2 separate regions of the Homo sapiens genome follow, and region 1 is linked to region 2. The links are contacts of gene promoters, found by promoter capture Hi-C in blood cells and fetal thymus (Javierre and others, 2016). All regions are on one chromosome and are shown on one strand. The core of a region is centred on a gene start or on the middle of the fragment in contact, and the rest is flanking DNA. Distances in the headings are between cores, read along the strand shown. Region 1 has its middle 37 kb from the start of MIR4536-2. Region 2 holds the start of RRAGB (Ras related GTP binding B).

Region 1 (5,558 bases), core at 2,478-4,977, 300 kb after region 2:
TTCAGCTCTATCAGGTCAGTTACATTCTTCTCTCTCGGCTATCTTGTCCGTCAGCTCCTGCTATGTTTTATCATGATTTTTAGCTTCTATGTATTGAGTTACAATGTAGTCCTTTAGCTCAGTGAACTTTGTTCCTATTCATATTCTGATTTCTACTTCTGTCATTTCAGCCATCTCAGCTTCAGCCTGGTCTGAACCCTTGCTGGAGAGGTGGTGCAGTCATTTGGAGGAAATAGGGCACTCTGGCTTTTTGAACTTTTGGCATTCTTGCACTAATTCTTTGTCATTTTTGTGGGCTTATCTACCTTCAGTCCATGAGGTTGCTGACCTTTGGATGTGAAATAGCAAAGATGGCAGCCTGCCCCCTGCTCTGGAAGCTCTGTCCCAGGGAAGTACAGAACTGTTGCCAGCCCAAATGCACCTGTAGGAGGTGGTTGGAGATGCTGTTTGGGAGGTCTCACCCAGTCATGAGGAATGGCATAGGATACCTGCTTAAAGAAGCAGTCTGGCCATGCTTGTATAGAGCAGTTGTGCTGTTCCAGAATACTGCTTCCACCCTCTTTTGGTTTGAACTCTCCCAAGGCTGCTGGCTGAAACAGCTGAGTTGCCCAAACAACAAAGATGGCATTCTACCCCTTACTCCAGGAAACTCTTTCCCGGGGAGGATTCCAATCTCTATCAGTCAGAGAACACCAGTGGGAGTGGCTGGAAGTCCAGATTGCAGGTCCTGCCCAGTAAGGAGGAATGGATCAGAGACCTGATGAAAGAAGCAGTTTGGCCATGTTTTGGTAGAGCAGCTGTGCTGTGCTTAGGGATCCCTTCTGCTCCTGGTTGGACTCTCCAAAGCCTGCAGGCTGGAATGGCTGAGTTACCCAAACAACAAAGATGGTGGCCCGCCCCTCCCCCTGGGAACTCTGTCCCAGGTATGGGTGACACTGGCTGGAATTCCAAGCCAGTGGGTCTTATCCTGGGAGGCTTAGTGGAAGTGGGGCCCACAGACCATTGCTACTCAGCCCCCTTCCTAGAGATATGTGCGGAGGTTCAACCCCCTGCCTTGCCTGAGTTGCAGTCACTTTTGCCAGGAAGCCCGGAGCTGGAGTATGTAAAGCTCCTGGGCCTCCATGCAAGCCTGAGTGGCTACTCTGCCGAGATTTCACACTGCGTGTCAGCCTGAAGGCCCTGGTGGGTTGTCTTCATAAGAGGGTCTCCCAACCAAAGGGTTGTAAAGATCAGTGGCAGAAGCATGGTTTCCTGGGGTCAATCATTCACTCACTGCTTCCCTGGGTTGGGGAGGTTCTCCTGGCTCTGTGTCACTCCCAGGTGGGCTCTTGTCCTGTCTTGCTCTTCTCCTTTCTCTGTGGGTCGAGTTGTTTCCTTGATTAGTCCCAATGTGAGTACCTGGTTTTTTCAGTTGAAGGTGCTATATTTACTTGCCCCTTTTGTTTCTCTCCGTGAGAGGCATGCACCTTAGCTGCTTCTAGTCAGCCATCTTGTCCCAAATCCTTATTTTTTTAAATCACTTTGTAGATGTTATAGTGTCTTCTAGATTTTACTCTTCCTATTGAGATGTCATCTAAGAGGTTAAATGTAATTCTTTTGTAGATAATTACATATTCTTTGCTGCTTAGAACATATCTTTGTTTTTGGGTTTCTGTAGTTTTATTATAATAAGTCTAGGTGTGAATTTAGTTTTATATATTCTATGTGGGGTTTACTAGACTTCCTGAATCTGAGGATTTATTTCTTTCATAATTTCTGAAATATTCTCAGCCTTTATATTTTTAATATCACCTATTTCTTATTCTTTCTGTTATCTATTTCTGACATTACAATTTGATGAGTGTACAACCTGCATACCATATTCTCCATATCCTTTAATTTCTCTTTCATATTTTTAATTTCTTTATTTCTCTGAATTTCATTCTTGTTAACTTATTCAAACACATATTCCTGTTTACTTCATCTCATTGTAGACATGATCACAATTATATCACAGGCTAAATGTGTTAGGTAGTAGAGAGTGGTAAGTAGAACCCACTCAATCATTATATTCATCATCTTAATCCTTCACAAGTCATCAACCCAAATTGACAGAGATAAACAACTATTTTATAGTATAAATAAGCTTCTTGTGATAATCAGGATATAATTATGCTAAAATATTCACCATATAGCTAAAATTCAATTTAACAAGGTATCCTGTATTTTATCAGGCAAGTTTAATGAGAAGTCAATTTCTACCAAAGAAGCTGAGACAGATATCAAAGATATCTTTGTGATGATGTAAATTAACTTGTTCTTCAGTGCTAACTCTAGTAAACATATAATGTAAATCTAAAGTTAGGACATATGAACTGCCAAAGATTTTTATGCTATCTCTGAATGTGAGAGACATACTAATAAAATTTCCAGGTAATTTTCTACCTTGTGTATGGACAGGAGGAAGAATATTGGATATCAGAATTTTTCTAAATATTCAGGTCATAATTTATATATCACTGGGTATAGGACAATTCCAGTTAGTAAGAAGTTACATAAAGCATTTTTCTCTCTAAACAAAGGATGATTCTCTTTTGGAGACTCATTCTTGGTGTTACAGATGCTTTTTCCCCCCTCTCGTGTGTGTGTGTGTGTGTGTGTGTGTGTGTGTGTGTGTGTGTCCGTGTGTGTGCCTGTGTGTCTGTGTGTGTGTTAAGAACACTAAACATGAGATTATCCCCTTGACACATTTTAAGTGCACAATAGAGTATTGTTAACTATAGGCACAATGTCGTACAGCAGATGTTAAGAATGTATTCATCTTGCGTAACTGATACTATATAACTGGTGGACAGCAACTCCCCATTTTAAGGATACTCACTCTGTTGTCTATTTTTTAAATTTTAGATGTTTTAAGATTACACAATTGTGGCAAATCAGATGCAATTATTATAACCCAAGTGACCCAATGGAGACCCCAAATTACAGTTAGTGGAAAATAAAAATGCTGTTCACATTCATTAGTCTTAATCTCAGAAAGTTAGAATAGTGTTTAGAAATTATAATTTCTTATCTGAAATTATCATATATACAAGTGAGATGGTATTGAAATGGTGCTCATCAGCCAGAGTCATAATCAATTTGAATTATATGTAAAGTGAAACATAATCTTTTTTGGTTTGACTAGCTAAGCACAATTCCAGACAGAGAGGATTCAAAATTATTCAGTTGGCGTTTAACTCTCATTGGGGAAGCCTAAACTGACATCTTTAACTTGATGTAAATATTACCATTTAGGCAATTAATCTCTTGAGAAAATGCTAAATCTCAGCAAAATTTTGAGATATAACAGTTGTCAGATACTTCTGTAACTAAGCTTATTTTAATATTATTGCCAATACTTTGAATTGATTTAAATCATTAATTTGAATTAGTTTGTATCACTCTTCACTGTCTTAGGCTGGATATCTACTAAAGCCATAATTGAAGATTCTTTAAAAACACATGTTGCAAATTAGGACTACATATTGCATAGAAACAAGTAGATTAAATTTATTTGTCAATTTTATGTGCAAAATAAACATACCAAAGTACTTTGGGAATGTACAACTTGACTGTGCTTTTATAGCACTGACTCTAACTCCCTGCCCCAAGTAATTCTTTTATTTGCATGGTTGATAATTTGATCTGATCTTACTATTTCTAGATCTAGTTCTCAACTTTCTTTTCTGTTCCACTGTTCTATATGTCTTTCTTTATATCAGTATCACACTGTCTTGATTGTAGCTTTATAATAAGTCTTGAAATCTGGTAGTTTAAGGCTTTCAAGTTTGTTCTTTTTTTCAAAATTATTTTGTCAGTTAGAGATCCATATAATTTACAAACAAATTTTAGCAGTCTTGTAAACTTCAACAAAATAACCTGCTAATATTTTCACCTGGGTTGTGTTGACAGTGTAGATAAATTTGGGAATAAATGATCTTAACAACATTGAGCCTTCCAGTGAATGTAGTATATTTCTCTACCTACTTAGTTTTTCTTTTATATATCTCACTAATGTTTTATAATTTCTGTGCATAAAATTTAGAATCATCTTGTCAATAGCTACAAAAAAAGCTTCCTAGCAAGAAAACCATATGACTCTCAAATCAATTTAGGTCTTCTTTAATTAGGTCTCTAAACAATGTTGTTTTGTTCTCAGAGTACATATTTTATCAAACTTACCCCAAAGTATTTCTGGTTTTGTGATGCTGTTGTAAATGGTATTTTTATATTATTAACTTTCAGATAGTTGCTGGTATATAGAAATACAATTGAGTTATGCATATTGACCTTGTATTCTGCAACCCTGCTAAACTAATTTTTAGTTCTAGTATCTTTTTTAAATACATACACAATCATGTTGTCTAAAATATGTTAAAAGTAGAAAAATAGTTTTTCTATTTAAAAGAAATCTGTATTCCCTTTTTTACTTGACTTATTACATTAGTTAGCATCTATGGTAAAAATTCAAATGGGAGTTTTGAGAAAAGATTTCCTTGGCTTACTCTCAATCTTGAGGGGAAGCACTGTCTGATGGTACTTATAGGTATTTTGTAGTTGCCCTTTACCAGGAAGAAGTTTGTTCTATTCCTAGTTTGTCGAGAGGTTTTATCATGAACATTTGGATTTTGTATAATGTTGTTTTCTGCAGTAAATGAGATGATCATATAGACTGTACTTTTTAGACTGTTAATATGATGAATGCTACTGATCAGTTTTCAAATATTAAATGAACCTTGCATTCCTGGGATAAACCCCATGTGGTTATAACCTACAATATTATTAGGCCAGGTGCAGTGGCTCATGCCTGTAATCCCAGCACTTTGGGAGGCCAAGGAAGGAAGATTGTTTGAGCCAAGGAGTTCAAGACGAGTCTGGGCAACAAAGTGAAACCCCATCTTACCAAAAATTTTAAAGCAATTAGCTGGGCATGGTGATACATGTCTGTAGTCTTAGCTGTTCAGAAGGTGGAGGCAGGAGGATCACTTGACCCCAGAAGGTTGAGGCTGCAGTGAGCTGTGCTCATGCCACTGCATTCCAGCCTGGGTGACAAAGCAAGACCTTGTCTCAAATAAATAAAATAAACATAACATATGATTTGTGTGTGTATGTGTATATATATAATATATATAGCATATATATATATACACATGCACACATCTATATATGATTTGCTAAAATATTAGTAAAGATTTTTGTATCTATATTCACAATATATATTGATGTCTTCTTGTAAACTTCGTTTTGTTTTATTTTTGTATCAGAGTAGTGCTCACTTTACAGAATGGTAGGAAAGTGTTTCCTCTTGTTCTTTTATTGGAGTAGATTGTGGAAAATTGGTGTTATTACTTCCTTAAATGTTTGGTAGAATTCTGGGCCTGGAGTGTCCTTTCTAGGAAAGTTATTACTAATATGTAGGACTATAAAAACTATCTATTTCTTCACAAGAAAGAGCATCAACTGCCTACCTACACTCGGCAGTAAGAATGAGCCTCTACCACTGGATATTAATAGAGGTCAAGTGGAGAATCTGGAAT
Region 2 (6,076 bases), core at 1,840-4,339:
GGCATGATCTCAGCTCACTGCAACCTCCGCCTCCCGGGTTCAAGTGATTCTCATGCCTCAGCCACCCCACCTGAGCCCCCCACCTCAGCCATCCCATGCCTGGGATTACAGGCATGCACCATCATGTCCGGCTATTTTTTTTTTTTTTTTGGTATATTTAGTACAGACAGGGTTTTGCCATGTTGGCCAGGCTGATCTTGAACTCCTGGCCTCAAGTGATGCACCTGCCTCAGCCTCCCACAGTGCTGGGATTACAGGCATGAGCCACCGTGCCCAGCCTTAACTTGCTTTTCAAATGAAGGGAACCTATGTTCTACCTTCAATCCCAAGATATTTTATACAAATTTCTAATTACTAATATAAGAAGTATTGATGAAAATATACTACACTCAGACTTGATTTAATCTAAAAATGTAGCTATATAACTTTATCTCACTAAGGAAATGCCACTGCTGAGCCAGTCTAAAGTTGCTACAAAAAGTTTGCTTTTGTACTTTAAAATTTTAATTGAAAAACAATAACTCTTTATATTTAGGAGGTACAATGCAATGTTTGATATATGTATACAATGCAGAATGATTAAATCAAGCTAATTTTTGTTCTTAATCATGTAGAAATTTCTGTACTTTTAGGCATTCTCAATGAAAGCAACTTCAGACAGGCTCATCAAGAACATTCTCTTAGCAAACTGTAGTTACAGAACTGAATTATTAGATGAAGCTAAGGCTAAATATGGTACATTTCCTTCGGTTATTAATTTATACAGTGTACCTCTTTCAATTGCCTATGAAAGACTTACCAAGGCTAATCATGTTAGGTACTGATCTAAGTGTTCTACAGGCATTTACTAATTTAAACGTCACAACAATCTTACGATACAGTTAATATTATTACTACCATTTTACAAATGAGGAAACTGAAGCCCCAAAAGGTTAAGAAATTAGCTTGAGCTGCACTCTTAGCAATTCTGCCTAAACCCCAACGTAGGGCACAGTACTATGAGAGCACAAAGGAAGGTGTGTCCAATTCTATCTGAAGAACTCAATAAGACCTTATAGTGGTAACACTTGAGTTAGGTTAAAAATAAATGTGCAGACAGAGGCCTGTATGGTGTGTGTATATGGCTTACACAAAGTGCAAATTAATTTGTAAATCTGGAGAACAATAAATTCTGTAGGGCTGTGATAGGGTGCATAAGTGTGGCACAGGGTTTGGTCAGGAACAGATTTTAAAGGGCCATGAAATCATTTGGATTTTATTCCATGGGCTTAAAGAAGTTACTAAAGGTTCTTAAGTATGTAGATGACTCAGTCGGATTTTCATATTAGAAAAATTAAATCTGATAGCATACAAGGAGAAGAGAGTCAGACAGACCACACAGAAGGCTCCTGCAATAGTCCAGAAAAGATGGTGTATATATGTCACAAAGTTCCTGAATATCAACTTCTTACCTTTACCTTCATGGTTTTGACGTATCTAACACGTCTTACCTTTTTCTTCATGGCTGTATTTGGTAGCACCCACCTGCAGATATAAACCAAAAAACAGTTTCCATGATCCAATTCCCTTAGAAATTGAAATTAATGAAGTATAAATAAACATGGAGGTACAAAAGAGCATGTTTAGTACAACGGCTGAGTACAGCTGTGTGTGTGGGACCTCAGATGAATAGAGGTCCCATTTTCCTAAATTATAAAACTGTGTGTATACTCTCTATCTCCTAATTAGAAGTTCAAGAGAGAACTCCTAGGAAGATTTATTTAGGAATACAAATGAGCCATTAAAATTCAAGATTCAATTTTTCATCATCTTAATCAAAGCAACACAGCTGCTTTAATCAAACAATATCTTCTATTTCTAAAAAAACAGAATATATTGATATCCTCTACTTGAGGACTGAGTATTGAATATCTTCTATGTATAAAAAACATTCAGCCTCCTAATTTTAAAATCTGGAAGTATCTTTTTAGTCCTTCAGCTGTCCTTCCAAGCCCTATTTCACTCATCACAGACACAAAGTAGATGTAAGTCTCAAATTCAGGTACAAATTGGCACAGAAAACACCCTCAAGCTCTGACCTGGAAATGCAAATCTTCTTTCTAGTCTTTCCATCCCCAACCTGGTGACAGCAAATCTCCTTTACTGATAATTCAAAGCAACTCATAACTGCTTTAATTAGAACACTCCCCCAGCACCACCACCAGGAATATCAGCCCCTTCCCAAGGGTTGTTTCTGATCAGTTAGCACCAATTCGCTTTCCAGTTTATCCTGTCGTCCAAAGCATAATCCCAATCAACATTACTGGTAAATCAAAGCAATTTATCATGGTGCGGGGTGGGGAGAAGTGTTCTAATTCACAATACTCTCTTCAATTTGAACACCCCCACTTCCAGGTTTCACAAATACCCTTCACCCACCCAAGCGATCCTTCCGGTTCCCCTAGTGGTGGATCCATTCTCGGCCCCAGATTTTCTTTCTCCGTCGTTTTCTCAGAGTCAGATTCTTCCATTGCGCAACAAGTCCTTTCCAGTCCCTTCTAAATCTTCAGTACTCTTCAGGGTTTGTTGTTGTTGTTTGTTTGTTTTCTTTTTCACCCCTCAACTGCCTATTCTCATCGCCTATGGCCCTCAGGCCTGCTCTATTCTTGCCTCCGCCTTTGTCCACTGGGGGGCCGCTTTCCCCACGGTTACCTTTATCTCTCGAACCTGGCCTCAAGGCACGGCCGAGCTGGCTAGCTTTAAGGCCAAGTGATTCCGTGGTACAAAGTAAGAGTTGGAGAATGACAGGAAAAGAGAGGTGGGTTAGGGGTTCGTCCCGAGTTTGGGCCTCAGGCCCCCAAGGTCTGGAAACCCAAAGGTAACTTCACCCGCAAAGAGGTGAGGACCGCGAAGGCGGAGGTGGCAGAAAGAGCTGACCCATGCCGTAGGCACTAAGCGGAGAACGCCTCAGCTGGCTCGTGGCTTCCGAGCCCGGCCGCTCGGAGAGTCAGCCGGCGGGGGCAGTAGTTACGACCTAACCACCCGCCCTTCAGGAACCCAGGTATCTCACCGCAGCCACCCAACTGCAGGCCAGGATCACGTGGGCATCTGCCTTACCCCGGAGTCTGTCACGTGACTGCCGCTACCAAAGGGACGGGTGGGCTGGGAAGAATACCATAGAGACAGCTCCAGGAAAGCCAGAGTGCCGTCTGTCATCATCACGTGGCCTTGGCTCAGGCTCCGCCCCTCGGGCGGGGTAGGGCGCTGGGAGCCTTCAGCCTCTCTAATGTGGGTGGGCCTGGCCCCACCCATCCGCTATGGAGAATTAAAGGAGCCGGTTGCAATTTCAGTGCCTCTGAGCTTCTCTTTTTTACTGCTGGTTACCGGTAATGGTTTTTGACTGGGAAGACCGAGCATTGTCTTTGCCTTCCTGCTTTTTATTGTTAATTCTTGCAATCGAGTTTGTAATTAAATGATTAATACATCCAAAGCGCTTAGAACTGTGTCTTCCACATAGCAAATACTGTATAAATTATCGTTATTGCTGAAACCAGGGATTCATCAGGAATTTTAACACACACATTCATCTTCCCACTTGTTTAAAACAGGAAGTGAAGGAAGTACCATAGTAAGAAGTCAATAAATAAAGTCTAGGGCTGGGAGTGGTGGGTCATGCCTTTAATCCCAGCACTTTGGGAGGCTGGGGAGGGAGGATCACTTGAGGCCAGGAGTTCAAGACCAACCTGGCCAACATAGCGAGACCCCATCTGTAAATAAGTGAAGTCTAGAATTGAGAACAGAAAGACTACTGGTAGGGATATGCACACCAGGAAAAATGCCCAGAGGGGTTCAAAGATGTTCCTTCTGGAGAATGGGGTAGGGGATAGGACGTGATATGTCAGGGGACTATTATTTTTTATCTGAAGCCCTTCTGTGCTATATATATTTCTATAATGTATAAATGATATATAATAATAAGATTAATATGACATTTAATTATATTTAATATAATCAACTAATACTTAAATAATATGTTATAAATATGTTATTTTAAATAAATGTGTAGTTTAATTATATTATTTATAATTAATATATGATATACTACATGTATTATTTACACGTAAGTGTGTACATATATTACTTTGATAAGAAAAAAAGGGAAGGAAGGAAGAGAAACTGCAGGAAACAGAGTACTATTATTGAAACTGCCTTTGCAAAAACTGTAACTGAGGAAATTATGACAGTGAAAGAGATCAGACCTCACCGACTCCATCTTACATCTAACCTTTAAGGTGTCCTTGTTCATTCCTGGGCGTAGGCCGAACTAACCTTGGGAAGGAATTTAGTTTATAGTTTAACTCTGATACAAAATTGATAATAGCCCTTTCTCCCTCCCGCTGCCCCCCACTAAAAAAAAACAAAAAAACAAAAAAACCTTCTTACCTGGGAACCAGTCGGCCTTTGCAGGACTAACAAATTAGCCACAAGATTACAAGATTAGAAATTACAATTCAGGGGCCATGCAGCCTCCAGCTGCAAGAGTCTGAACCTCCCCAAATTGCTCCCAGGAATAACATCACTGTTTTAAAACCTAAGATCACTGTTTGATATGTTTTGCAGACCCTGCATTCAGATGCACCAGCTTATGATACAGGAGCGGGGCAGGAAAGTGCTGGGCAGAGAAAGGCGGGTCCGTGGCTAGGGCTCCACCCTGGGGCCTGTGCCCATGGACCTAGGTGAGGATAGGCACTCCTGCCTTCCCACCCAAATGTTATATTCACCCCTAGAGGTTGCCATGGGGTCGGAGCCCCACAGCCTGCCCCTCTGCATGCTCCCCCTAGAGGTTGTGAAGCAGTGAGCCACTCCCGCTGTGGCATGCCCTGCAAGGGGGATAGGGGAACTTCCCTCGTTTCACTTACAGCACCCAGACCAGTAATCTGGCCCAGCCAGTTCTGCGATCCCACCCAGGAACAGAAGATAGCAAGAAAAACTCACTTAGAGCCCCCTATGATTCCATATCCAACTTGACCAGTCAACACTCCCCACTTCCCAAGCCCCTACCCACCAAATTATTGTTAAAAATTTCAATCCCCCGAAACTGATTTGAGTAATAAAACTGCAGTCTCACCCACAGCTGGCTCTGCATGAATTACTCTTTCTCCATTGCAATTCCCCTGTCTTGATAAATCAGCTCTGTCTAGGCAGCAGGCAAGGTGAACCCGTTGGGCAGTTACACTGTCTGCTCCCACACTTTCCACTTGAGGTCCTGTGTGATTCCTTTTCTCCACAACTGCCTTGCCTCAAGAAAAAAGTTATTCTACTCTGATTAGTGATCCTTCGCTCTATCACTAGCTAATCTTTTGTCTCCTTCCAACCAACTACCCCCAAACAAGCTTCCATTCTGGCTTTCCTTGTCTGATGAAAGATCCTGAGTCCCAAACCAGGAAGTCACCTTAGATTCACTGCCCTCCATACGTGTCAATGAGACCAGGTCATGATCAGTCTATTTTCTACTACCTGCCTGCTCTTATTCTTACTGCCACTCTTTTTGTTCCAGCTATCATAATCTCTGGCCTAGATATCCACAATAGCCTACTAAGTGATTTTCCCACAGTGGCAGCTCCAAAGGGGTTGGGAGTGAGTGAGTTGATCTTCATTAGTCATCTCATCCCCCAAAACATTTGACGTAATTAATATGTGCTTGCTTTCTAAAGGCAGCTTTCAAATATGTCTTCCAACACCTACTGCCCCCGGGCTTCACCAGCCAAATTGGCCCCTTAAACCACTCTTTTATAAAAATGTACTGTCTCGGCCAGGTGCAGTGGCTTACACCTGTAATCCCAGCACTTTGGGAGGCCAAAGTGGGCGAATCACCTGAGGTCAGGAGTTCGATACCAGCCTGGCCAACATAGTGAAACCTCATCTGTACTAAAACTACAAAAATTAGCCAGGTGTGGTGGCACGCGCCTATAATCCCAGCTACTCGGGAGGCTGAGGCAGGAGAATTGCTTGAACTCAGGAGGCGGAGGTTGCAGTGAGCCAAGATCGCACCACTGCACTCCAACCTGGGCGACAAAGCAAGCAAAAAAAAAATACT

The links. Contacts are between HindIII fragments. The CHiCAGO score rates a contact against its expected background, and 5 or more counts as called.
Region 1: a contact is called between a fragment that was not itself captured here and the fragment with the promoter of RRAGB in region 2, in 1 of 17 cell types (activated CD4 T cells). The highest score is 5.8, in activated CD4 T cells.

Annotation. Positions count from the first base shown.
Region 1 is chrX:55,412,056-55,417,613 of GRCh38, reverse strand. No RefSeq gene overlaps it. Among named protein-coding and RNA genes, the nearest start is that of MIR4536-2, 37 kb to the left of the region's middle. The HindIII fragment of the contact is 740 bases long and covers 3,358-4,097 here.
Region 2 is chrX:55,714,762-55,720,837 of GRCh38, reverse strand. RRAGB (Ras related GTP binding B) reads right to left here and starts at 3,089. Exons shown (of 10, transcript NM_006064.5): 1 at 2,419-3,089; 2 at 1,491-1,524. The coding sequence starts at 2,510. RefSeq lists enhancers at 2,471-2,600, 2,761-2,960. The HindIII fragment of the contact is 6,209 bases long and covers 1-5,374 here.